Linked DNA regions of Homo sapiens: all the other regions are linked to region 6. Evidence: promoter capture Hi-C in 16 types of primary human blood cells and fetal thymus (Javierre and others, 2016). All regions are on one chromosome and are shown on one strand. The core of a region is centred on a gene start or on the middle of the fragment in contact, and the rest is flanking DNA. Distances in the headings are between cores, read along the strand shown.

Region 1 (4,078 bases), core at 1-2,500, 5.5 Mb after region 6:
ATATTTGTAATGCCGCTGCTTCCCACCCCTGCACCCTCGCCCCAAGCTCCACCTCATTACTCAGTGCTAAAAGCAAAGTAAGTTAATATTATAACATACCCCTTCATTTCACTTCCTCAGCTCCTCACGACTGTTCCCCTAGTCCTCCTTATCCCATTCCCTGTCTCCTTCATTTCCCCAACTAGTTAACTTCAGTGCCCTTTCTAAGATAAAGGGGGTATGACCTCAAATTCAGGCTTAAAGCCCTTTCCACCATTGAAAGGTTATTAAATTCTGCTCCTCTCCCCTCCTGCAGCACCTAGTAATTAGCGCAGCCTGTCTCACAGAAGGTGCTCAGTAAATGAATGAAAAAAACGAACACACGCCCTGGAAACTTCAGTGTGCACGTACAACTCAATCCACGCATGCGCGGAGGCAGAGCCCCAGGACCGCGAGACTATCCGCACAGCTTCTCCTCAGGCCCCACAGCTAGAACCCCAAATCGCCTAGTCCCAACCCATGCACTCTCTAATCGGCGCCACACGACGGGCCTTCCCCACAACCTCATCTGCTTGGGGACGTAAAGGGCTCTGTGGGGGAGCTGCAGCTTTCGTGCCCATCTGTTAAAGGCCAGAACTTCCCATCTCTGAAATGCGGGAGGGAACAGAGCTCAAGCTTGAATAACTGAGCGCGGCCCGGCAGTCCCCCAAGTGAAGGTGCTAGCGCTAGAGCAGCGGCAGGGCGGGGAGCGGGAGGCCGGGCCCCAGGGAACCGCGGGGCGCGCCCGGCGCCGCATTACCTCTCCAGGGCCTGTAGGGTGTAGCTGATGAGCGGCCTCTCCAGGATGGGGCAGAATTGCTTCGGGGTGGGGACCCCCATCCTCTCCCCGCACCCCCCGGCAGGCAACACAGCTGCCACGGCTTGCGGGTGGCGCCCGGGCTCGGTCCCGGCCACGCTCTGCAGGGAGGCGGAAGCCGTGTGGTCCGCGCCGCGCTGACCACTCAGGCAAGGACCCGGCTCCGCCGGCCTGGCGCTGCCCGGCGGCCCGGCCTCCATGGCTGCGGGCGGAACGGCGAGCCCCGCTAGCCTCGGGCCGATGCGACCCCGCGCTGCTCCCACCCTCGGCCGGGGTCGCGGGGCGAAGGGCAGACCACGGAGAGGGACGCAGAGCGCGCAAGCAGAAGGCGCCCCCCTCAGCCGTCGGAGCCCCGCTGTTGCTGCCCCGCAGGGGACGATCCCGACAGCTACGGCAGCAGCTGAGGCTGCCGATCTGCCCTCGCGGCTCGGCTGCGGCCTCCGCACCCGGTCCCAGCGCCTGCGGGAGGGCTGACTTGCCCGCTCTGCGCTTCCCCCGGGCAGGCCCAGCTGTCGCCGCAAGTGGAAATGTCAGAACGCCCTACATATCTAAAGATCGCAGATACTCAAGGGCCATGAGTATGCAGGAGAGGTCAGGCCTCTGTCCCATCCCTCCCTGCTTTAAAATTTCGGAAGAGATTGGGATTCAAGTCACAGGATGGGACGTAGGGTGCGTATGCACCTCGATTATCTGAATTCCATTAAGCTCTGGAGGCTTCCTGGTTCCACCTGGGGTAAAGACAGATGGATTAGCAAGTGTTATTGTGGCACATCAATAATCCAAACTGTGGTGGCTCTCAAACTTGTCTGCACTTTGGAACCACCTGGGGAGCGTGTCCTGACACGCTCAGAGATTGGGATTTAATTGGTCTGGTGAGCACCGGACTTTGGAATGTTTTTAAAGATCCTCGGGTGATTCTGATGAGCAGGCATGTTTTGGAACCATAGGGTCAAAGCAATACTAATTGCTGAACAATCGATACACCTTATGTCATTTAGTCCCCAGAAGAACTCAACTATTGCCATTTCCCTTTTTACAAAGGGGAAAAGACGTTAAAATGGTTAATTTATGTAAGATTGCACAACTAATGGCAGAGGAGCCTTAAGGCCCTCATACAGAAGTAGGCCAAAGTTGAAGAATTCCAGGCCTAAAGCATATCTTACCTTATTTAGTACTCTTGTTGCTGGTGAGGTTTACCATGAAAGTATAGTGAGAATTTGGAGGAGAGCACTATTGTATTAGGTCCCTGGAATGTAAACTCCATGCAAGCAGCAACATTTTTCTTTTGGCTTGGGTTGTGTGTGTGTGCCCAGCTCCTGGAATGTAACACAAGCTTAATATGTATTGAATGAATTGCTGATTAAATAGATTAATGATCATTAAAGTGTATAATCATCAGTAATTCAGTCTTAATCCAGTGGCTTATGATTAATAAAAAATAATCTTTTTAAACACTGGAAATGTTATCTAGTTGTAGTATTACAATTTTTATTTTTACCTGTTTTCTTGAGAGCATATAAAAATATGTTTTCTGCTTTTCCTTTTTGTTTAGTCTTATTGAAGGCATTCTTTCACTTTTGTTACTTTTATTATAATTAGCATTTAGGTCCTGTGCTAGTTGGTTTCTTAACTGAAAAGTGGGTGCCATAATATACTTCCTTGTAATTTTTATTGCTATCGTTCCTTTCTAATTTGATCTCGAGGTCTCTCTCTTACGAGTGGCCATAAGCCAGAACAGCCACTCTTCAGGAGAGCCCTGGCCCAGAGAGGAAAGCTAGGTTCTGGTGTGCAGGTGAGACGCCAGAGGAGGCAGCACACAAAACATGTGAAATAACAGGCGCATTTTATTACTTACAGATTCACCAGAGAATAAGCCTGATGGAAGTCTGGAGATAACAGGACTCCCAACCAGCAGGTGGGGTGCAAGAGAGAGGACCTGTGGGGCTGTGTTAAGGTCCAAAGGCTTTATCCCTTAGGCTTTCCAGAGGGGGTTGTGGATTGACTAGTTTAAAGAAAACACCAGCAAAGGGAGAACTTGACTCTGGTGTTGACCATTGGGTTTTATCATGGTTAGCAGCTGTTGGGTTTTTGGTCATGGAATGAGGAATAAGTGTTCTATATCACAGGGAGGGGAAGTTTTAAGTAGGCCACAGGTGACGTGATACAACTGGGTTTCAAACAGCTTATATCAGGCCTAAAAATGGATGCCCAGGCAGCAACTATATTAAACAAGTTTGGCACAATACTTGACTTCATAGCGCCACTACCACACCTGTATCAAGCATTTAAATATCTGTTGACTAACTGGGTGGATAAATAAATGAGTCTATCTATGAGAGCAGGAAGGCAAATCGAATTAGTATTTCTATTAATATTGATCTTTAAACCTCCCTTTTTAATCTAAAGGTGGAGTTGTTATAAAGGTATTCTTCCTTTACTTAATCTTGAGTGAAGAAAAGTAGAGTAATAAAGCTCTTGTTATACTAATTGCTATAGAATAATTTTATATAATTAAACATTGACAAATTTTAACTAGAATCTTAGTTTTGTTCTTAGAGCAGATATATCAATTTAGATCTTCCATGAATCCTTAGATCCTTAGATCTTATATACTGTATATTAACAATGTCTAGCAGACCAACTTGTAGAGAAAAAAGGGCACATTAAAGTATTCATTCATATACGTAGTATGAAGCAACATTTTTCTCTCTGTCCTTTTTATATAAATATAATTAGTTCCATGTTTTGCATACTTTGGGGTAACAGATGTAGCTTCCTTGTTACTTAATACCAAGTTATAGCAGCCACAATATGAGAATATCTTCTCTGCATCAGGCATGTGAAAGTACATACCCTGAAAAGTGAACTCCTCTGGGACCCATTGGTAATAACAATTCTAAGATATCACTTGAAGAGTTTAGAAAAAATAAACCCCAACTGAATCATGAGGCAGAGCATGCAGAGTTGGAAGTTCCTGGAGTGGTTTCCATTTTGAGCTTCCAAGTAGGCAAAATAATGACTCCCCAAAGATGCCCATGCTCTTATCTCCAGAAGCTATGAATATGTTACCTTACACTGCTAAAGAGACATTGCAGATGTGATTAAGTGAAGGATCTCAAGATGGAGGGGAGTAGCCTGGATTATCCAGGTGGGCCCTGTGTAATCTCTGGCATCCTTATAGGAGAGAGGTCAGAGTTAGAGAAGGAGGTATGAGGATGGAAGCAGCCATCAGAGTGCAGAGGG
Region 2 (3,969 bases), core at 1,023-3,522, 5.7 Mb after region 6:
TCCTTTTTATATATCCACACAGAAGACTTTAATGGTTTTCAAACTAACCTGGATTTATGGTCATTTCTAAGAAGAAAAAAGAAATGTTATATGTTTTTCTCAGTGAACAAGGTAATTGAATGGGACTATTATAAACAGGAAAGAGAACCCCTAGTTGTCGGTGCAGAGGAAACTGCTGGCTGGAGGAAAAGGATGCGGTGTTAGTATTTGGGAGTGTGAAGATTGTGTTTGTGTTAGAGTTGAGCTTCTGCAGGAAACAATTTAAAAACTGTATCCTATAGTGCTAGAAATTATGGTGCCATAAATTTTCTAATATTCGTATGTCCCTAAGAGGCAATATTGTTAAATTCTCTCTCTAAAGATAAATGCCTTTTCCCCCCCACCGCTTAATAGAACTCTATGGAGAACTCTTTGGTATTTTGGAAGTAACATATGCTAATTCAATTTATCCAAGTGCTGAACTCAACTTTAAATTAATATTTATGCGCTACTCCATCTTATTCCAAACTATAAAATTTATGAGGCAAATAATGAAAAAGCTGTCTTCGAGAATCATATAAATAATTCTCTAAGACATTGCAACAGCTTTAGTTGGCTCCTTGGAAAATGCACTGAGTGGAGACAGTGGATCAGGTTCTGGCCCCAACTCTTCCATGTACATAAGCTCCAGATGGGCAGGGATCGTTCTGCTTTGATCTCCACTGTCTTACCAATGCTAGAATGGAATTCCTGACCTCAGCCAAGTGGTTTGACATCTCAGTGCCTTATCTGAAGGTTAGCTTAGGGACTGGGCTTACATCCATGGTTTTCAAAGTATTCCATTCCGCGTGGATGCCACTTGTAAGTTACAAAGTAAAAAAACACGCACTTAATTATTAAAACGTTAATAAACACAACTGCATCTCGAATGCATCATATGTTGTCTTTAAACATACTGGAGACAATCAGTGCTTGCTAACTTGTTCTGCCCGATTGTGCAATACTTGGAACAAAGCTCCACCTGCTAGAAAGTGACCTCCATGAAATTTGCCTGATTTAGTGCTTGCTGCATCCCTATTGACTAGTACCAGACCTGGTATATTTGGCAAACAAATAAATGAATGATTCTCTGTAGGTTTAAACCTTTTTCTTTTGAGACGGAGTTTCGCTGTTGTTGCCCAGTCTGGAGTGCGATGGTGTGATCTCGGCTGACTGGCTGACTGTAACCTCTGTCTCCTGGGTTCAAGTGATTCTCCTGCCTCAGCCTACCGAGTAGCTGGGATTACAGGCGCCTGCCACCATGCCTGGCTAATTTTTGTATTTTTAGTACAGACGGGGTTTCACCATGTTGGCCAGGCTGGTTTCGAACACCTGACCTCAGGTGATTCGCCCGCCTTGGCTTCCCAAAGTGCTGGGATTACAGGCATGAGCCACCATACCTGGCTTAAACCTTTTTAAAATGTATGATTCAGAGAGCTTGTAGCTCTGTACTAGTTCTTTTTTATTTCCTTTAATTCAATTTTGTATGGTCCACTTCTGTAAAGTTGTGTTGGGGAATCCAGTCCCATGTCATCAGCGTGCCCTAGACTAGGCTTGGCATTTCTATCCAGTTCATGCTCTCATTATGTAATAAGCATGCATATGGAAAGTAACTTTGTGTGTGTGTGTGTGTGTGTGTAGCCCTTCAAATAAAGCTTCACCTGCTAGACAGGCTTGGGCAGGTCCCCTTCTGGGAGGATGGGAGTTTCTTGGTTGAGAGAACTAGTAAGTGAGCCAATATTTGGACTCATGCCCACCACCACCTTTGAGCTTCCTGAAGGTCCACTATTACGATTTTTAAGCAATTGCTCCAAAACAGAATTCTCTCACTGTCTACCAGTCTAGGCCTTACTTTTCTTTTTATTTCTTTTTTTTCTGAAGATTTTATTTTCCTCTTTTCCATGATTAAAAATCCTCTGAAGAGAGGCAAACACTTCAACACTCTTTTACTTTAATAACTTGTCTTCTGACTTCCCACTGGAGTAATAGTCACCAACACTCCCATCAGTTTTGTGTCTGTCTTAAACTAACTTGCTCTCTGGCATTGCCACTCCACTTCTTGCTGATTTTCATCTCCTGGTTCTCCTCACCTCAGTTAGCAAGGCCAGTGTTGTGTGTGCTGTCCATAGCTCCTTTCCTCTAGGTGGAAAGTAAATCTCATATAAAATCATCTTTCTCCTCTACTATGTAAAGCTCAACATGTATTTAGGTATCTTCCAGTGAAAAAGCACTTTTCTGGAGGAAGGAACATTGGAGATGAGAATACTCATTAATAATAAATATTACTTTTGTCTTCAGTGGAGGTGAAAATCTCGAATGCATAGGCATTTTCTAAAAGGTTACATAGGATGATGTTAAAGGGTTTAAATTATTATCATCTCCATGGAGTGGGGCTAGGATATAAGGTCAAGAGTGAAAGATTGGGAAGAGCACTACCCTTCTGTACTGTGTTGGGGTTTTTTGTTTGTTTGATTTTGTTTTGTTTTTGCCATCAGTGTGTTATTACTTTAAAGTTTTAAATCACTAGTTAAAATAATATAGAGACTGGCTGGGCATGGTGACTCATGCCTGTAATCCCATCGCTTTGGGTGGCCAAGGTGGGCAGATCACTTGAGGCCAGGAGTTCGAGACCAGCCTGGCCAACATGGCAAAACCCCATCTCTACAAAAAAAAAAAAAAAAAAAAAAAAAAAATACAAAAATTAATTACTTGGGAGACTGAGGCACGAGAATCCAAGGGAGGCAGAGTTTGCAGTGAGCTGAGATTGTGCCACTACACTCCAGCCTGGGTGACAGAGTAAGACTCTGTCTCAAAAAGTAATAATAATAATATAGAGACCATCTTGCTTTTTTCTAAGCTTAAAATTATAATATTATTAACAAATTTCAAGGACATTTCCTTCTCTATAAGAGTTTCTGCTTTTCCTAAAGTGATGCAATGGAACAGATGACTTTTAAAATAAAGATTCAGAGAATATCACTGAATCAAGTTATATAACTCCAAGTCCAAATGCAAATCATTTTTAAATTGTATTTTAGCATAATATGAGAAAAGATGGTAGAATTTAATTTTAATTTTTTTCTGTATATAACCCCCCCCCCCCAAAAAAAAACGGATGATATTTATTTATTTATGAGACGGAGTCTTGCTCTGTCAGCCAGGCTGTGATACAGTGGCATGATCTTGGCTCACTGCAACCTCTGCCTCCAGGGTTCAAGTGATTCTCATGCCTCAGCCTCCCAAGTAGCTGGGGTTACAGGCGTGCAACACCATGCCTGGCTAATTGTTTTTTTTTTTTTTAGTGGATACACGGTTTCACCATGTTGCCCAGGCTTGTCTCAAACTCCTGACCTCAGGTGATCCGCCTGCCTCAGCCTCCCAAAGTGCTGGGATTACAGGCATAAGCCACCGTGCCCAGCCTGTATACTATACTGTGTTTAAGTGTGAACAGTGGTCATTACTGAAAGTTAGACTGATAGATTTTTTCTAATTTTTCCTTAAATATTCTATAATATACATGATGAGCTGACCTTATAATCAGTGATTTTTAAAGGTTACCTCTCACTTTCAAATAAAGATGCTGTTGTTTCTCAGCTTAATCACCTACTTTTTTGCTTCTGTTCAGTATTTTGTCATAAAAACCTGGTTGGACACACCAGATAGCTTCAAAGTGGCCACCTACTTTTTTCAATGGATTAGACTCTGAATGATCTCTGGCGACTTTCTAAAATTAAATCCTCTATCAAACAAGGAAATTTCTCATCATTGAGTATAGTCAAAAGAATGATCTGTAGACTCCAGAGGAAATTCTAAAAAAAGTTTCATAAATCTATTAATTAAAAGGGGTTTTGTTTAATGGAAGCATTATTAGTTCATAGTTTTTCTTTATTGAAGGAAGAAATTACTTTGATGGGTAAATGCTGGAAAATGTTTTTTTAAATTACTTAAGTT
Region 3 (4,385 bases), core at 721-3,220, 5.7 Mb after region 6:
GCTTTTAAAATTTTTTATTTCTGTTTTTTCTAAATCATTTCTTTTTTTAGTATACTTACTCTTTTAATAATTTCATGAACTGAAAGCTCAGAACACCATAAAGATTAAAAGTGCAATGATAAACACTACAAAATTTCTTTTGAGTATCACTTTGGCCAGCAAACAAAGCTTTTGATAAATGTTGTATTTTCAGTTGTAAACAGTCAGCAATTTTTATTCCTATATCTTCATTAACCTGAGAATTATTTAGAGACAAAAAAACAAATTCCAAGATATGTGCTTCATTATTTGGATTATATTTTTGTTTCTTTTCGAATGTATTATACTACATTTAGCAAAGCTGTCTGAAATAAGCTACAATTTCCGTTATAAAATAGTATAATACATGGATTAATTTTTATCAATGTTACATGTAAAGAAGATATACTATTTTTTTCTGCTAATATACAGTCCATGTACTGTTAATTGGGTTGTCCAAATTTTCTACATCCTATGTTACTTTTTTTCTATTTAATCTGTTAGTTTCTAAAAGGTGCTATTGCGATCTTACAGATTTCTCCTTTGAGCACCATCATTTTTTTCTTTATGAACCTCAATGCCTATAGCTGATAAGTTTATAAGAAAAGGCTTAAGGCTATTATGTTCTTGGTGTATTATTAATTTAATATATAAGACAGAATATCCATATAATTATTTTTTGCTTTAAACTTTATTTTGTCTGATATTAATTTTGCTACCCATGTGTGGGTAAAGAGTTAACAGAACCCCTTTCCCTTCTGCATGAGAAATTGAAGTTCAATGAACTTTTTAGCACTAGACTGTGCTATATAATATAGTAGCCACTAGCCACATATGGCTATTTAAATTTAACTTCTAATTAATTAAAATTAAACAAAATTAGAAACCGGTACTTCTAGCCAAGATATAGTAACAGAAACCAGAGTTATCTTCTTCCTAGAGTAACAGAAAAACAGACAAAATAACAATTTGCAAGACACTGTCGGTTAGGCAATAAAACACATGATCCCTGAGAAAGGGAAAGCAACTGAATTGGCTCCTGCAATTGCCTAGCTTATAACCTTAAGAGGGTTTATAGGTTACAGTATATGGAGAGGTCAGCCAGACTGAGCCTGGCAGACTGCATTGAGGCGATGGAGTTGAGCATCCAGGGTCACCAAGTTGGCTTAAGTTCCCAGGAAGAGTAAAAGAGAGAAGAGAGCTGCACAGAAAGGGAATTCTAAAGATCTGCAGAGGGTTTCTTCAGAGTGTTTGGCTGGAGTACTGATCAACACACGCGTATGTGGAAACTACCCAAGCCTGGGCAAATAACTAGCTGACAGCATTACAAGGAATAGCATCCAGTGCTCACACAGGGCCAGGAAGAGTGCCTGTTCCCACCAGCCAGGCTTGAAAACCTCAAGCATCTGAGAACATTGCATAGAGGACAAGGAAGTGCCTTAGTTCAACACCAGGAAAAAAATCCTTTACTGAGCATTTTGCTAGTTCCACCTAACAAACATTAAAAACTAGAACTGAAATAATCAAACTGCTTCCAAGTAACTTAACTGTGTTCATGAAAAAAAGCTCAGGAGTATTTATCAAAATACAGAATCATACAGCACCCAGTAAGGTAAAATTGACAATGTCTAGCACCCAATAAAAAACAATCAAACATGGAAAGAATAAAAACATACAACCCATAAAGAGAAGATAAATCATTCAAAAGAAATAAAAACAGATGTCCATACCAACATTTGTACATAAATGTTCATAGAAGCTTTATGGTAATCATCCCCAAACTGGAAACAACCCAAAACTCTAACAGCTGATGAATGGATAAAAAGATTATGGTATACACATACAACAAAAAAAACTACTCAGCAAGAAAAAGGAATAATATATGCTACAGCATGGGTGAATCTCTATGCTAAATAAAAGATGCTAGATTAAAAAAAGAGTACTTATTGTGTGATCTCATTTATATGAAATTCTTGGAAATGCAAACTAATATATTGTGACTAAAAGCAAATTAATGCTTTTTGCAGGAGTGGGTGGGGAAGGGCAGGAAGGAGAGATTACAAAGGGGTATGAGGAAATCTTTGAGGTAATGGATATCTACGTTATCTTGATTATAGTGATGGTTTTACAGGTATATACATATGTCAAGCTTAACAAATTTTACACCTTAAATATGTATAGCTTATTATATATTAATTATACCTCAATAAAGCTGCTAATAACCGAAAGAAATGAAGGAATCTAAATATCCATTTCCTCAGTCAAACTTCCCTTATTTGAAGTGTTTAATGGTCACACATGGCCAATGGCTACTGTAATGCTCAGATGTTACCACCATTTCCAAAACTTATTTTAGAAGCAACTATTCTAGGAAATTGAGTTTAGGTTCACTTAACTTTCCCTAGAACTGAAGTTGCTGGATCAAATAATATACTCAGTTAAAATTGATACATATTCCAAAATTTTCTACAGAATAGTACATCAATTTACACTTAACCATTAGCATTTAAAAGTCCATTTTTCCCCATGCTTGACAAGAAATAATATGATTTTGACTTTATTTGCACTTATTTGATTACTAATAAGACTAAACTATTTTTACATGCTTATTTTTCTTTTATGACCTATTTGCTTACATTTAGTTTAGGAATTATTAGTGTAATATGAGCAAAAATGCTAGAAAAAAAACTTGTATTAAGAGATTTGAAGGCTGAGCGTGGTGGCTCATGCCTATAATCCCAGCACTTTGGGAGGCCAAGGCAGGAGGATCATGAGGTCAGGGTTCGAGCTCAGCCAGGTGAATATAGTGAAACCCTGTCTCTACTAAAAATAGAAAAATTACTCAGGAGTGGTGGTGGGTGACTGTAATCCCAGCTACTTGGGCGGCTGAGGCAGGAGAATCACTTGAAACAAGAAGGCGGAGGTTGCAGTGAGCCAAAATTGTGCCACTGCATTCCAGCCTGGGCGAAAGAGCAACACTCCATCTCAAAAAAAAAAAAAAAAAAAAAAAAAAAAAGGATATATTATCTCTTCTTATAGGAAGTAAAATCCTTTATTAAACTTCTAAAATCTTACCTCGTCCAAACAGTTGACACGAACATTCTTGCTGGATAATAATGTTCCAGCTTCTTGGACAGTACCTAAAAAAAAAAAAAAGATGAAAAGTAAGGTTATTCGTCACTAGAATAAGAGAAAAATCTAACATCAAGGAAATAAACCTTAAGGAGTTATCTGTAAGAGTACATCTAGTCAGTGTAGGTTGCTAAGAAATGAAACATCCAATCACATACTATTTATTTTACAAAGTAATTGTCCAGTAGAATAGATTTACAGAAACTAAAAATAGCTCCATCTTGTTTTTATTTTCACTGACCTTAAAGTATATTACATTGGCCACATTTTCCTTTTGGCGGTAATACAATAACCACAAAGCATAAGACTTAATACTGAAAAAAAATCTTAAAGGGTATCTAATCCAAATCACCATCTGAAGCTTAAATTCCAGTCAATGTAATACTTGGAATTCAAAATGCAGTCAGTATTTATATAATTTGTCAGCACCACATCTTGTGAATTGATGACATATTTATAATAGAGTGCTTGGTTTGGAAATACTTAGGTGAAACACATCTTCAATGCCTAGTACTACATTACAGTGCTCTATGATCAGTACTCACCACCCTGAAAGTCAACTAATGTAAACCTTAAGGTCACTCCTCTGTAAATTTGGAAAGAAGCTATAATTGGGCCAAAGTTGTCAGGTTTTTCCAGTCTTCTATAAGGCATAATGACAGAAGCATACTTGCAGGAGAGAATGTTGCTATTATCATTAGTACAAGCCAGCCACACATTTTGCCAAGAAATTTCTGGTTTTACTGGGAAGAGAAGAATGAAATTGAATGTGCTGAGGGAGAAAGGCTAAGATAAGCCTCTCCTATAAAAGAACATAAAAGAATAGGTAAGTCTCCCAATCAGGTTATTTCCTCTCTTTAAATTTAGACTTGTAGTGCAAGACTGTGCTAAACTCTGCTAGCCTTCTAGAGTTAAAGGTGAAATGCAAAATAAAGATTAGCATGCTTTTTTCTCTCTGACCCACTTCTTAAGCAAGTCACCTGAGTTCCCCTCACCAACAGAGAAAAAACAGAAACATCTCCTAGATAGAGAAGTAGCTCTGTTGGGAAAATGTCAAGTGAATGATCTACACGTCCCTGGAGTATGATAGCAGCTATTTTTTTTATAAATAATGCATTTTTCTGACCCTGTATTCCATCTGAAAGCAGTTAGTATCACTGGCTGAATCGCTATGCAAGGGCAAAGCTCTTGTGTGTGTGAGCATGCGAGCCAGTTCTACATGAAACCTTATTCGT
Region 4 (4,153 bases), core at 275-2,774, 7.0 Mb after region 6:
CTTTGTGCTGCAAAGTTCTGCAAGTTCTGACAAATGCATTATGTCAGGTCTCCACTTTATAGTATCATACAGAATAGTTTCATAGCCCTAAAACATAAAGGAAAAGAGAAGTACATAACAAAATTGCCTTTACATATTTATCTGTAGACCCAAACAACTGATCATTGTATTGAATAAACTTCACTTGAATCATAGAGATATTTATATTGATATATAATATGTAATCGATTTCTCTATAATACCTAATTACCTAATACTTGTTAAAGTCTTACCATATGCTAGTAGCTGTTCTAAGTGCTTCACAATAATCCTATAAGATAGAAACTGTTATTTCCATTTTACAAATGAGTAAACTGAGGCTCAGAGAGTTAAAATTTTTTGCTGAAGTTTACATAGCTAGTAGAAGAGCCAATATTTAAAGAAAAAATTATATATATACATTTATACATAACTGTGTATATGTATAAACTTATCTATATGTACGTATATATGTCATGTGAAGTTGTATGATACAGAATTGTGTGTGTACTGTGTCAAGTATATTAATTAAGCTAACTTTAAGAACTAAAAATTTTCAACCATCTTTGTCCTTCATTTTTTAATGTGAATCATAAATGTTGTGGTGGGTCCTTGAACTCCTGTTTTTGCCTTTAGCCAAAGAAGGAAATGAGAAAAGGAATCAGTACTCATAGATGAAGCTTAATACGTGCCTATATTTAAGGCTTACCTCAGCTGGTTTCATTTTTACAGAAGAAGGGTGAAATCAAAGGCTGTCATTATATTGCTTCCTGTTTTACTATTTTAACAACTGAGGTAAAATAATGAGATTATTCTAAGAATTGCTGTTGTTTTTAAATGATAATATGATAATTTGCACAGTTAATTTGGCATGTCTTCACCCTTGCATATATGGTGATCTTTTTGTTTTGAATGAAAATTTTAAATTGAAAACTATTTATAATAAATGTATATACAATTAAATGGAAGAGATGTTACACACATGCCCCATAATATTGGCTGTGGAATAAAAAGAATACAAGCGTGGAAAGATTTGCACTGTGGCCTTGCCTTTGCTGTTTAATGAGATTAAACCTTGGAAATGAAAGATCACCATTTGTTGAGCTTCAGTTTCCTTTTCTGTAAAGTAATGAAATTAAAACATATAATTAGAGTAACACTAATATACTGTCTACATTAATACGGTGGGTTATTATTGTAATCATTGGACAATGCCTTGTGGCTCAAGATCAAATGCTTCATAAGGTTTCTTTTCGTGTTAAAACTGTTATACTTAATGAAAGTAAGTTGCAGTTCATTTTCTTATCACTTTCCTTCAACAAACATATGCATCATCACCTTTTTACAAAAACCTTGCTACCAAGCAGTGGCACAAACTGCTGTGAACTATTTTGTGTATGATAATGAACTCCTTGAATTACCACCTTTCTATTTAAAATGAGACACCTCCTACCTTATAATGGCCATATGTGCAAATATCCATGAACAGAAAAATCAGCAAAAATGTCAAGAAAAGTCCTGGTGTATAAAGACAAATCAAATTATCAAATAAAAGACATGTAAAATCAGGCTATTTGTTCTTGAAATCTATGGGATGTTCACCTAATCTCGATGGATAAGATTTGTATTCTGTCTTGTTCACTAAATCAGCAAAATGCTGAGGGCTTCACATTTTATTTTTAAAAATAGATGTCCTTTTCGAGTTTTCCTGTTGCTGGGGAAGTGTTCTTGCTGTTGCTAACAGAGAGCTAAATGTTCTGCTTTGAATGGGATGTGTTTGTTTTTATTGGTAGGAGTGGCAGAAGGATGAATGAAGGAATTCATGTTTTTTAACTGTGTTTCTTTAAGTGACATGTCTGCCTTCTGGGTAGAGGTACCCCATTGGCTATTTACCAGATAATCTGTCTATACAATCATAGAATATGCTCATTTGTTTACATATTATTTTATTCATTAAATCTTAAATGGGCTAACTATTCAAATTTAGAGAGCATAAGGTTATGGAATTCATATCAGGAACATCAATTATCGCTCAACATCTAGTGGTTAGAAGGTACACAGAAGATACTTAAACCCTTTACATGTTTGCCTAATGTAATTTAGCCTCAAAAAAGGGAAGAAAAATAGATGAGATCTGGCTTTTTCTTTAAATCTTCTGATCATATAATTAAAATACAAGCCATTGTTTCTTAATCTTTATATATTACTCTTTGCTCTATTTACCACAGGAAACTGATGAGAGAAATATCACAGACAAAATATTACAAATTATTACTTTGGTATATACTGTGCTTAAAACTGCATGGAAAAACAGTAGTTATTCTGGCTATCCCAAGCTTAAAATAGGAATTACAGAATTACTTTTTAATGTAATTTTATTGCCCTAAAGTTAAGTTCTATATTATTATGATTTTAATTCTGTTGTAGTACTCTGTAAAAGATTGTTGATTTCTTAAACAAGAGCTTTTACTTTGTTTGAAGTTATGTCTGTTCTTCTGAGTAATTCATTGAACTTTATGGATATGCCAGAAAATTTGGTAATGCTGAAATTCTACACTGTGAAAATATAATTGAGTTTCTAAATTTCATGTTTGTCTTTAGGGGAAGGTTGTTAATCTGTGAGTCATTGGTTTATGGGGAGGAGGCAATATTTCATAATATCTCTCTAAATCAATCTGTAGCATGACGATGCTATGTGTTCACCTAATTATTTCATTTTCCTCATTGATGTTGAAAGAGCTTACATGCTCTACCTATTTGGGCAGGGTGGTCTAACTAGCTTACATCAAAGGAGTGTAGCAATCCTCCCATCTCTCCATCTTCCAAGGTGACCTTGGATGCTACAGATTGAGATAATAGAAACTCAAACTGGAAGGAACCGCACAGGAGAACCCATCTACTAGATCAGGAAAAAAATACCTTTGGACTTTGCATGAGTGACAAATTCTTTTATTATTATGGGTGGCTGTTACAGCAGCTGGCAATATATGCCCTGAATTAAATGCCCTCTAACTCTACTTACTGAGAATAGAAAGTTTCTAACCTAAGGAATGTTTGCCCTCTTTTTCCCCCCACCCTTCAGAATGAGGGGACTGTTTTAATTAAGTGATATTACTTAAGTAGATCTCCAATTGATTTACAATTCTCTAAGGACTATGGCCTTAATAAATCATGTCCTAGGTGTTATAGATTAGAACACACACACACACGCAGATTAAGATTTCTGGGTGAAAAGGGTGACCTCAAAACCCTGCTGTGGCCGGGTGTGGTGGCTCCCAAAGTGGTAATCCCAGCACTTTGGGAGGCCGAGGTGGGTGGATCACTTGAGGTCAGGAGTTCAAGACCAGCCTGACCAACATGGTGAAACCCTATCTCTACTAAAAAAAAAATACAAAATTAGCTGGGCGTGGTGGCACACACCTGTAATCCCAGCTACTCGTGAGGCTGAGGCAGGAGAATTGCTTGAACCCAAGAGGCGGAGGTTACAGTGAGCTGAGGTCGCACCATTTCATTCCAACCTGGACAACAAGAGCAAAACTCCATCTAAAAACAAAAAAAACAAAAAAAACCCTACTGCAACCAGGTTACACAGAAAAGAAAACCAAGGAAGCAATGAATAGCAATAAGGATGAATAAGACAGTTATGGACCGGAAACAGTGAACAGTTACTCTGAAAATCCTGAGAACCTCTCCAGAGAGTTCCGATAGCTAATATAATCCAAGGATGTGGTCAAATTGGAAACTAAGGGAGTACACGTAGGTGTTTTGCTTAGGAATCTGCATCAAAGAATAACTCAAGTCACCTGGATTGGGGTGGATTTTGCCCTGGGGATGTTTGACAGGTGCTTCTCACCTCTGACAGTCACCCACACTGACAGTTCACTTGGGTGAACAAGGGAACTAATGCTTATTGAATGCCTCCTCTGTGCCAGGCACATTATGTGCGTTACCTTTAAACTTCATGGGGTAAGTATTGCTGGCCCCATTTACACAAGGAAATAAAATTCAGATGGATAATTTGCCCAGGAGTTATTTGCCAATAACAGGCAAATCAATTTGAGTCTAGACTTTTTTTACTTGGAACTTACTCTTTTTTCTGTAAGCTCTCACAAGTTGAATCTCAGTTCTAGGAGTT
Region 5 (4,296 bases), core at 1,259-3,758, 6.4 Mb after region 6:
TAAAGAAAAAGTTGTAATGGATTTCAGCTTACCTGTACATAGAAAGTTAGCACTGAATGTTGGCAAATAATAGGTGTTGAGAAAAGGGGATCTACACTTTAAAATGATACCAGCTGTAGTGGTGATTAAGCCATTATGAAGTGTCAGAACTGGAAGTCACTTCTGAGCCTTAGCTGATCTTTCTTTAAAATGCATACTGATAAAAACTTTTACTTTTATTAACATATTAATAATATAAAAGCATTGTCTTGCTATTCTTTTTAAATGTCATGAATTTCATATATGTAATACTGAATTGTATTACTTACATAATACTCATTAAATGTTTTCTATAAATTTATGGTGCCATTTTTAAAATAGCATCTAAAATAAAAGAATGGGTCTTTTCATTTACACAATTATTTCTCCATCATTTTTCTTTCCAATAGCTTTAGATAGCATATACATAGTAGTTATGGACACTTGCTTATTAGAACTATGAAATGAAGTAAGTGAAAGTGTTTAGTTATAGGTAACATTAAATGGCAAAAAGAGGAAACAGGTATAAATTGAAAGCACTGGATCTAAACTAAAAAATGAGGTCTAGTTTCTTCACTGTTACAGATCTGGGCAAGTTTCTTGACCAATAAAGCACGACAGTCAGCACCTGTACTGCTACTCTCACAACTAAAACAGAACAAAAAAAAAATATATATATATATATAAACTGTGAAGACTGCTAAAGATACAAATGAAACAGAAACGTAAATTCTATTCTTTTAGCTTACATTATCACAGAACAATCAATTCGCCCGTGAAACAGTAAGAGGCAGTATACGATTATGTTCTCAATTACGGCTACGGCTGAAATGTGCTACTTCACTGGTGAATAAATTTACATAGTACGTGCTTACTCATGTATTTAATTAAGACAGTTACTTAGAAATAAATACCATACAAATCTTTTACAACAGTACCTTTCTACTTTTATGCTTCTTTTAAAATTGATATTTTGCTAGTGGCTTAATATGACAAAAGATGACTGTTTATTAGCACTTATTCTGATACAAGCTTGCCCAGTTCTTTACATCATTTTCTTCATTTTTATAATAGTACTAAAGAAAGGTAGTATTATTTAAGTTTATAGATAGGGAACTGAGATTCAAATTCAGAGTTGCTCAGATAATGAGAAAGAGTTTGGATATTGGATCCCAGGTCTTTTTGCTTCAAAGCTTGTGTTCTTACTGACTTGTGTTCGTACTGTCCAGGTGAACAGATTCAGTGATGCATACAGTACAGCCATATCCTAGGGATTTTCACTGTTTCTTCTCAGATAGTGTTATGGCTGAAATAAATTATTTGTCATTTCCCATACATAATTTGTACTTGCTCATCCCCATACTTGTGTTTTTACGTCCTTTCCTCTTAGAGTCTTTTCTCCTGTCTTATTGATTTGCTACCCACCTCCCTTCCTCTTTAAAACATTGTTTTTAAAGGCTGCATAATACTCTGTTGTACTAATATTCTATAATTTTTTTAACTGTTTTTCTTTTGGGAGGAAATTTTATTCCCAACCATTTAATACTTTAATATTTCAGAGAATACCCTTGGGACGTGTAAATTTTAATGCAAATTTATTTTTTTAGGAAAAAATTCCTGTAAGGGAATTTTGGGATAGAAAAGTATGTGTTGTTTTAAGGTTGAACCAAATCGTACACTCCAAGAGATAGTATCAAATTAAGAAAAATTTACTAATTACATTCCATCATCAATCTGGGGATGTGACTATATCTTTGCATTTTTGCTTAAAAAATATTATTGTCAATTTCATAGGCAAAAGTGTGGTTGGTAATTAAAGTTATATGTTGGGATCATGGTTATGTATAGGAGAAGCACTTGTATTTGCAGATTTTCTACTTAGGGTGTCCTTTACGTATTCATTTGTTTTGTCTTACATTTTTCAGTCATCTTTTAGTTTGTTCTTTTTACTTCTTTCTATTGAAATATTGTTTTAAAATGTATTCCTATTAAATAATACTGGCAGATTTTAAAAGTCAATTATATATGTGGCACATCTTAAGTATAGCATGTGAGGCCTTATCTTTTGATGTCTTACTGTGGTAGTTAGGGATTTTAGTGCTGTCTTGTCTCACTTTAACCTTTTTCACCTTCCTGCATCCTCCCAATATATTTTATCACAATTTTGGATTATATACACATTAGTGTTGTATTATTTTTGACTGTATATTGTTTACTGTTTAGCTAAGTAATATACTGTGATTATATTTGCCTTCCTGTTCTATGCTATTATTGATTTCTTTTCTACCATCTTCCTGTTTATTAGCATCTGGGTTTAGCTGTCACTTAGGTTCATCGGAGACAGAGTTTGTGTTTCTGGCTCCTGCTTTTCTTGTTTTGGTGTGGTTTTCTGGAAGAGAAGGGTAGTTGCAGAAAGCTAGATATTCTGCCGTCACAGAAACAGAAGTGTCTTGCCTGTATTTAAGACCCGATTTAGATGCCACATCTCCATGAACTCTTTTGCAGCACCTGTGTTACTGAGCAATATATTATGCTTGATTTTGCCATGTTATAAAATATATTTCCTCCTAGTAGGAAAAAGAATGTCTTTAAAGATAGGACTATTATTTGTCTTTGAAACTACCAGAGCTTCCCAGTACAGTACCATGCACTTAGTACATATTTGAGATGTACTAATTTAACAATTAACTACCACTTAAAATTTTTTTGGTAATGTTTTAGTGATTCTGGTAAGGCAGATACATTTTATGCGGGTTCGAGGGGGAATAAAAATGTGTGTTTGCGTAGAAGAAGGGGGAGGGGAAACAATGAGTTTTCCAGGATTATGGAACTAGTAGTGGTTTCTAGGCCATATTTCATTTTCCTGATCTTCCCTGCTAATGTCTTGTGCTAGAAACTATGCTGTTTATATCTCATCATCTCTCCTCAGGTATAGCAAACAAAAGGGAAAGGAAAGAACTCATCACAATTATAGGGCAGCAGCAGGAGGGTGGCAGAAGACTTCTGACTCATTAAAAGTGGCTTCCAGCCAGAATTCTCAGAAGTTTTTGTAGATGTTTTTGACTCATATAGGGAAATAAAATATCCAGCTGTGTTCAGCCTGACAATGAAGTTGGGGTCTATTTGTGCTATGTGTCACCTCCATTACATTAAGCACATAGTTTATGATTGTAAATATTTGAAATTTATATTCAGAGATAAATACGGATGCACTGAAGCTGGGGGAAGGAAATGAAGAATGAATGGGGTTAAGAGTTGGGCTTTATTGGGTGTAGGTAGTATGGTAGGGGGATTTTATTGAGGAATACTTCAGATTTCCTAGCTGTTAGATGGAGAGTAGCACCATAGTGCTGAGAAGCGGGTGCCCAACTCCAGGGGAATGTTGAATGGAAGGGCACAGGGTCAGGTACAGGGACTGGAAATAAAGATAAACAAGTTATGGGTAAGTAGACCAACGCAGTAAGAGTAGATTAAATCACCCCGAGGAAAAATCCGATAGAGCAAACTCAGTACTGTGAGAGGCAATCTCTTGTTAAAAAACGTCACTTTGATCTCATAGGATTACTGAAACCATATCTTTGCATGTCATTTTGAGGTTTTATAATGAATATTATATAAAACAGTTATATTTATGAGTAAACTTGGTTAATTTTTTCAGCTTTGCTTCAAACACTGGCTACAAATGATGAACCTCATAGACTTTTTTGATGGAGATGTTAAAAAGGCTTTCAAGATAGCATTCAGACTGGCATTGGGCATACTGTTGGGCCTGTTACCACCAGCAGTTAAAGCTTGCAGGGCTTCTAAACAGAAGCATGGCATGCAGTCAGCTGGAGTCTTGATTTCATAACAATTTTACAGATTGGGACAAGATTTTTGAGGTAAAGGTTTCAAAAAATAATAAGTTACTCCTTTGCCTGACCAACATCATACGGTCTATTTCAGGAGATGTTTGAACTCCAGAGCTCCCAAATCCAATCTTACAGGGATGTTTATTTATATTTCAAACAGGCTTTTCCTTAAATAATGGTTAGCAGTGTCCTTTCTTAAAGATTCGAAGACAATACAAAAGTAAAAATATTAGCGTAATCCAAGTCAAGTGCAGTTAATGTAAGATTACTCTATTTTTAATTGTTCTGTATATCTTCAAGATGTATGGATAGATATTAAATATTTTAACAAAATCTGTACATTTCTCACAAAATCAGTGAAAAAGTGGGTCAAATGCATTACCTTTGTTAGCTTTAACAATCTGACATTTTAAAAGCTTCAAATCCA
Region 6 (4,069 bases), core at 700-3,199:
GTACTAAGAATACATTTTTGAACAGATCAATCTTATTTTCTATTAGATGAGGTATGGTGTTATTTCATTATGAAGTTGAAACAGGTAGAGGATCTATAATAAGCAATCTCATGTAATCAATTAGAAAAAAGGTAGAACACAGAATCCCTATCACAAGATACTTTTTATCTGGCTTTCACAAAACCTTTCCATTTAATTAATAAAGTGATATACAGAAAAGTGCATAGAATAATGATGAATCAATCTTTTGATTGTCTATTGTTTTTCAACTGCAAATGTGCAAGTGAAGGCAAAAAACATTTACATGTGCCGAGAACCATGATTATTTTATAAAAACAATTATTTTTATGTCAATCCTCAAAACATTACAAGATTTGGTATTAGCAGTTCTACTTTACCAAAGAGAAAACGAGACTCAGAGAAATTAGATAATTTCATGAACCAAAAAAAGTAAATGAAAACAGCAGATTTGAGATCTGAACTTATTGTATGACTGTAAATGTAACATTCTTTCTACTACCCTAATGTTATCGCCCTACAGAGACTGTGGCTCCTAAACTGCCTTGATCAGCTATCAAAGTTTTAAACATTTTTAAGTACTTACCAAACATCTGGATTGAACAATGCCAGACGCAAGAGATACAGTGTTGCTCCAGTAGCTCCAGTTCCAATAAATACAAAGAGGGGGATCAACTAAACCAAACACAAAATAGAATAACCATCTTCAAATACTTAAAACACTGGCCAACGAGAGATTACAGTAGTTTCTGCACATTGATTTCCAAGTCTCAAACTGTTATTGGACTGTTTTGTCTTAAAATTTAAATAAAGTAGATCTTACATTGAGGTAAGATTTCTTATAACTGTGTTCTAAAGAAAGAAATGGAATTTGGAAAGGATGTTAAGATGACTCTGGTTTAAGTGTCTTACTTTTTAATGTGGAGCAAATTATAGGTACATTTTTAAATTTCCAAGAAAATGTATCGAGTCTTCTTCACCTCTCTAATATTTACATGTCATTCCCATTAAATTTTCTGGCTTCCTTTATCCTGGGGCTTGAAAAACAAATTCTTTGCAAATTATTTAAGGGTGCCTCTATAAAGATGTATGAAAAATAGAATCTGAATAAGTAAACGTATCTATTACAAATACTGGCTTTAAGCATTATCTCTGAAAACGTAATGCTACCAATGCTTGCTGCGTATTTAGGGAACCGGATTTAAGACAGATTAAAGATTGCATAGACTTTTAGCTCTACAGCACATTGATGTGCTGAGGAAAAATGAGATGCCAAAGAACTTAACTGCAATTTCCACACTTCGAAATTTTCCCAAAAGCAACGACGTCCAGACAAAGTGAGGATTCCAAGATCACGGACCCCTCTTATTTACCAAAAGGCCTGGTGGTGCAATGCGGCGAATACAAGAACCTCCAGAGATGGTATAACACATAGGGAACCTGACCTATGCTAGTCTCTGACCCACACAGCGCACATCTATCCCTCCTGGACCGCACAACCTGCAAAAGAGAGCGGCCACCAGACTGTTCCAATATTCACTAACTAGAAAAAACTAGGTTTTTTTTCCGAGCAGTGTCCGTCTCCTTCCTCCTGTCAGACAAAACCCCACAATGCATGGCGTAGAGGGTCACAGAGGCCTGGGACAACTAAGATGACAAACACTAGGCGAGGCAGGGTCTGGTCTGACGGACGGTAAGTGGCTGTAAATGAGGACGTTCCCAGGGAACAGAAAGAGGCGCACCCCGACGCAAGAAGGACAAGGGAAAACATTAGGAGAGCGGTCACGAACTTACGCTCGGATGCTTCTTGGCCTGACCGATGATCTGGCGGAGCATGTTTGCGGCAGAGGTCTCCGACTGGAAAGGAGAGAACCGACCTAGCCACCAGGCCCTAAGCTAAAAATTATCTGCAATGAGACACTACGGACTTCCAAAGTCACCCAGGACCTCCTACCTGAAGGACCCTTGGCTGGGAGGGCAGCTTGCGGCAGGAGGGCCCGGATGCGACTGTCTTTAATAGTGCCTGCTTAGATCTAACCCCTCATATGTTCGTCCTGACCTGGTCGGACCATCATCATTCCACTTCATAGTGAAATGCCTTCATTGCCGTGCCATGCATATTTCTGAGGGGAATTTTTTTGGTCGAAACGAGGACTCTTCGATTGACCAGACAGGCACTTTCCAAGGGTGCCACGTACTGAGGAATGCGGTCGGAGCGTGGGCGCACGGGCCGCGCGCTCCGTGAGTAGGGGGCCTCTCCCGCGGCGCCTGAGAGCCGGGTCCGCGCGCAGAGGCCCTGGGGGCGCGCGTGCCGGGTGCGCGCTGGCCAGCTGTGACTGCCGCTGAGGGAGCTGCGCGGCGCCTCTGGGAGCCGAGCGCCGGGCGCCTGGAGGGCAGGTCGGGCCTCTTGCCGCTAAGGTCAGCGGCTGCGGTTTGAGAAGACTGCAGCTGCTTCCTGTGTTACGCTGTCGCAGACAAGCAGAAGTTAAAAACTAGTAAATGACTTAAAGGTGATAATAGTCCTGGCAGTGTATTTCTGAACCCTCAGATCCTGGCCCTCGGTTGAAAGTTCGTCGCCACAAAGACCTTTCCAACACGCCACTATCCCCCGTCCCTGGTCCCAAATTGCATCTTTAAAATGTGTTTTCAATGGTCGTGTAGCTACAGATAATCTTTCCCACTACCCCAGTCGAATTTTCATTTGTCTTTTGTTTTGTTTTCTTCGTTGTTTTTTTTACCCGAAGGACTTCCATAGGACAGGCTTTGCGGGGGAGGGTGGGGGGATTGGGATAAAATGTACACTCTGAACCCTCTCCAATCTCATACGTAGCTTAAAGCATTAATCAAATGATCAAGCAAGTATTAATAATTGGGACTAGAAATCATAGGAGAAGGCTCCACCGGAAGTTACACTAGCTCTGAAGGAGGAGCGGACATTAACCAGGTGAAAACGGAGGATGCAGGTGTACAGGGCGGAGGTAATAACACGTGAAGGTCTGAAGCTATTGAAAACCCGAGGGAGCTGTATGAGGTCTAGTGTGGCTGGAAAGTAAAAGGGAGAGCAAGGTGGGGATCAGATCTGCTGGGCCAATAACCGCTTAAACATCATGGGTTTTATGTTGAGAGCTTGGGAAGGTTGTGTTTTTAAATGATTGCTTTGTGAATAATTGATTAGAAGGGATAAGCGTGAGAGGGGAAAGACCTATCAAGGGGCCATTGCAATAGTCCATAATCTGTGTGACAGATAATGGTAGCTTGAACTAGTGTAGAGAATGTAATGATGAGAAAAAAAGATTCCAGAGATGTTTAGAAGGTGGCACCAACAGGACTTGGTGGTTGGCTCTCCAGGAGTGAGGAGAGAGAAGTTAAGAATAATTTCAGAGGTTCAGTTTTGAGCAGCTCTGTGGTTGTTGATGCCAGTTATTGAAATAAGCCGTAGAGAATGATGTATAAGTGCCTATGTAAAATTCAAGTGGATCTCTATGGGGCAGAAGAGAACTACACTATAAGTATAAATTTAGGACTCAGTTTACTGATAAGAAATGAACCCATGTGACTGAATGAGATTACTTAGGGAGAGAAAGTTGACTGAGAATTTAGACAGAGGACACAGAGCCGAGGAATTCCAACATGCAATGCTTAGAAGAGGAGGTATGGCCAGTAGGTAGGAAAAAAAAAATAGATGGTAACTGTTAAGGTGATATGTCATGAAGCTTATCAAGACTGGTGTCTTTTTTCATTCATTCAGCAAATCTTTCTTAAGTACCTACTCTCCACTAGGCACTGTTCTAGCCACTAGAGTTATAGCAGTGAACAAGAAAATTACTCTGCGTTGCTAATGGAGCTTACATACTAATTGAGGAAGACAAACAATAAACAAATGAGATAATTTTTAGACAGTGACAAGCCAATAAAATAGAATAATGAGACAGACAATGACATGGAAGAGGTGGAGGAGAGGAGGTTACTTTAAGTAGACAGGACAGGGAAGGTCCGTCTGAGGATTTCTGAGTTGAAACCTAAATGAAAGGAAGGAAGTAACCTGGTAAAG

The links. Contacts are between HindIII fragments. The CHiCAGO score rates a contact against its expected background, and 5 or more counts as called.
Region 1: the fragment with the promoter of CRPPA here is called in contact with the fragment with the promoter of COXFA4 in region 6 in 1 of 17 cell types (non-activated CD4 T cells); the score reaches 7.1 in non-activated CD4 T cells.
Region 2: a fragment that was not itself captured here is called in contact with the fragment with the promoter of COXFA4 in region 6 in 1 of 17 cell types (non-activated CD4 T cells); the score reaches 5.3 in non-activated CD4 T cells.
Region 3: a fragment that was not itself captured here is called in contact with the fragment with the promoter of COXFA4 in region 6 in 1 of 17 cell types (non-activated CD4 T cells); the score reaches 5.3 in non-activated CD4 T cells.
Region 4: a contact is called between a fragment that was not itself captured here and the fragment with the promoter of COXFA4 in region 6, in 1 of 17 cell types (activated CD4 T cells). The highest score is 7.0, in activated CD4 T cells.
Region 5: a contact is called between a fragment that was not itself captured here and the fragment with the promoter of COXFA4 in region 6, in 1 of 17 cell types (total B cells). The highest score is 5.2, in total B cells.

What each region holds. Positions count from the first base shown.
Region 1 is chr7:16,420,288-16,424,365 of GRCh38, forward strand. It overlaps CRPPA (CDP-L-ribitol pyrophosphorylase A), which reads right to left and starts at 1,251. Exons shown (of 10, transcript NM_001101426.4): 1 at 779-1,251. The coding sequence starts at 1,035. It overlaps LOC105375168 (a long non-coding RNA gene), which reads left to right and starts at 399. Exons shown (of 5, transcript XR_007060223.1): 1 at 399-695; 2 at 2,693-2,750. RefSeq lists silencers at 842-901, 922-1,061. The HindIII fragment of the contact is 1,514 bases long and covers 653-2,166 here.
Region 2 is chr7:16,651,401-16,655,369 of GRCh38, forward strand. All of the region lies in intron 1 of BZW2 (basic leucine zipper and W2 domains 2), which reads left to right. Among named protein-coding and RNA genes, the nearest start is that of BZW2, 7.2 kb to the left of the region's middle. The HindIII fragment of the contact is 1,202 bases long and covers 1,672-2,873 here.
Region 3 is chr7:16,633,298-16,637,682 of GRCh38, forward strand. It overlaps ANKMY2 (ankyrin repeat and MYND domain containing 2), which reads right to left. Exons shown (of 10, transcript NM_020319.3): 2 at 3,094-3,158. Among named protein-coding and RNA genes, the nearest start is that of ANKMY2, 10 kb to the right of the region's middle. The HindIII fragment of the contact is 390 bases long and covers 1,776-2,165 here.
Region 4 is chr7:17,946,082-17,950,234 of GRCh38, forward strand. No RefSeq gene overlaps it. Among named protein-coding and RNA genes, the nearest start is that of SNX13, 7.7 kb to the left of the region's middle. The HindIII fragment of the contact is 1,656 bases long and covers 697-2,352 here.
Region 5 is chr7:17,302,124-17,306,419 of GRCh38, forward strand. The region is part of intron 1 of AHR (aryl hydrocarbon receptor); the gene reads left to right. Among named protein-coding and RNA genes, the nearest start is that of AHR, 5.6 kb to the left of the region's middle. The HindIII fragment of the contact is 2,598 bases long and covers 1,210-3,807 here.
Region 6 is chr7:10,938,204-10,942,272 of GRCh38, forward strand. COXFA4 (cytochrome c oxidase associated subunit FA4) reads right to left here and starts at 1,950. Exons shown (of 4, transcript NM_002489.4): 1 at 1,813-1,950; 2 at 605-693. The coding sequence starts at 1,854. LOC107986767 (a long non-coding RNA gene) reads left to right here and starts at 2,053. Exons shown (of 3, transcript XR_001745091.3): 1 at 2,053-2,528. RefSeq lists enhancers at 1,933-2,202, 2,087-3,007 and a silencer at 2,233-2,482. The HindIII fragment of the contact is 7,174 bases long and covers 1-3,729 here.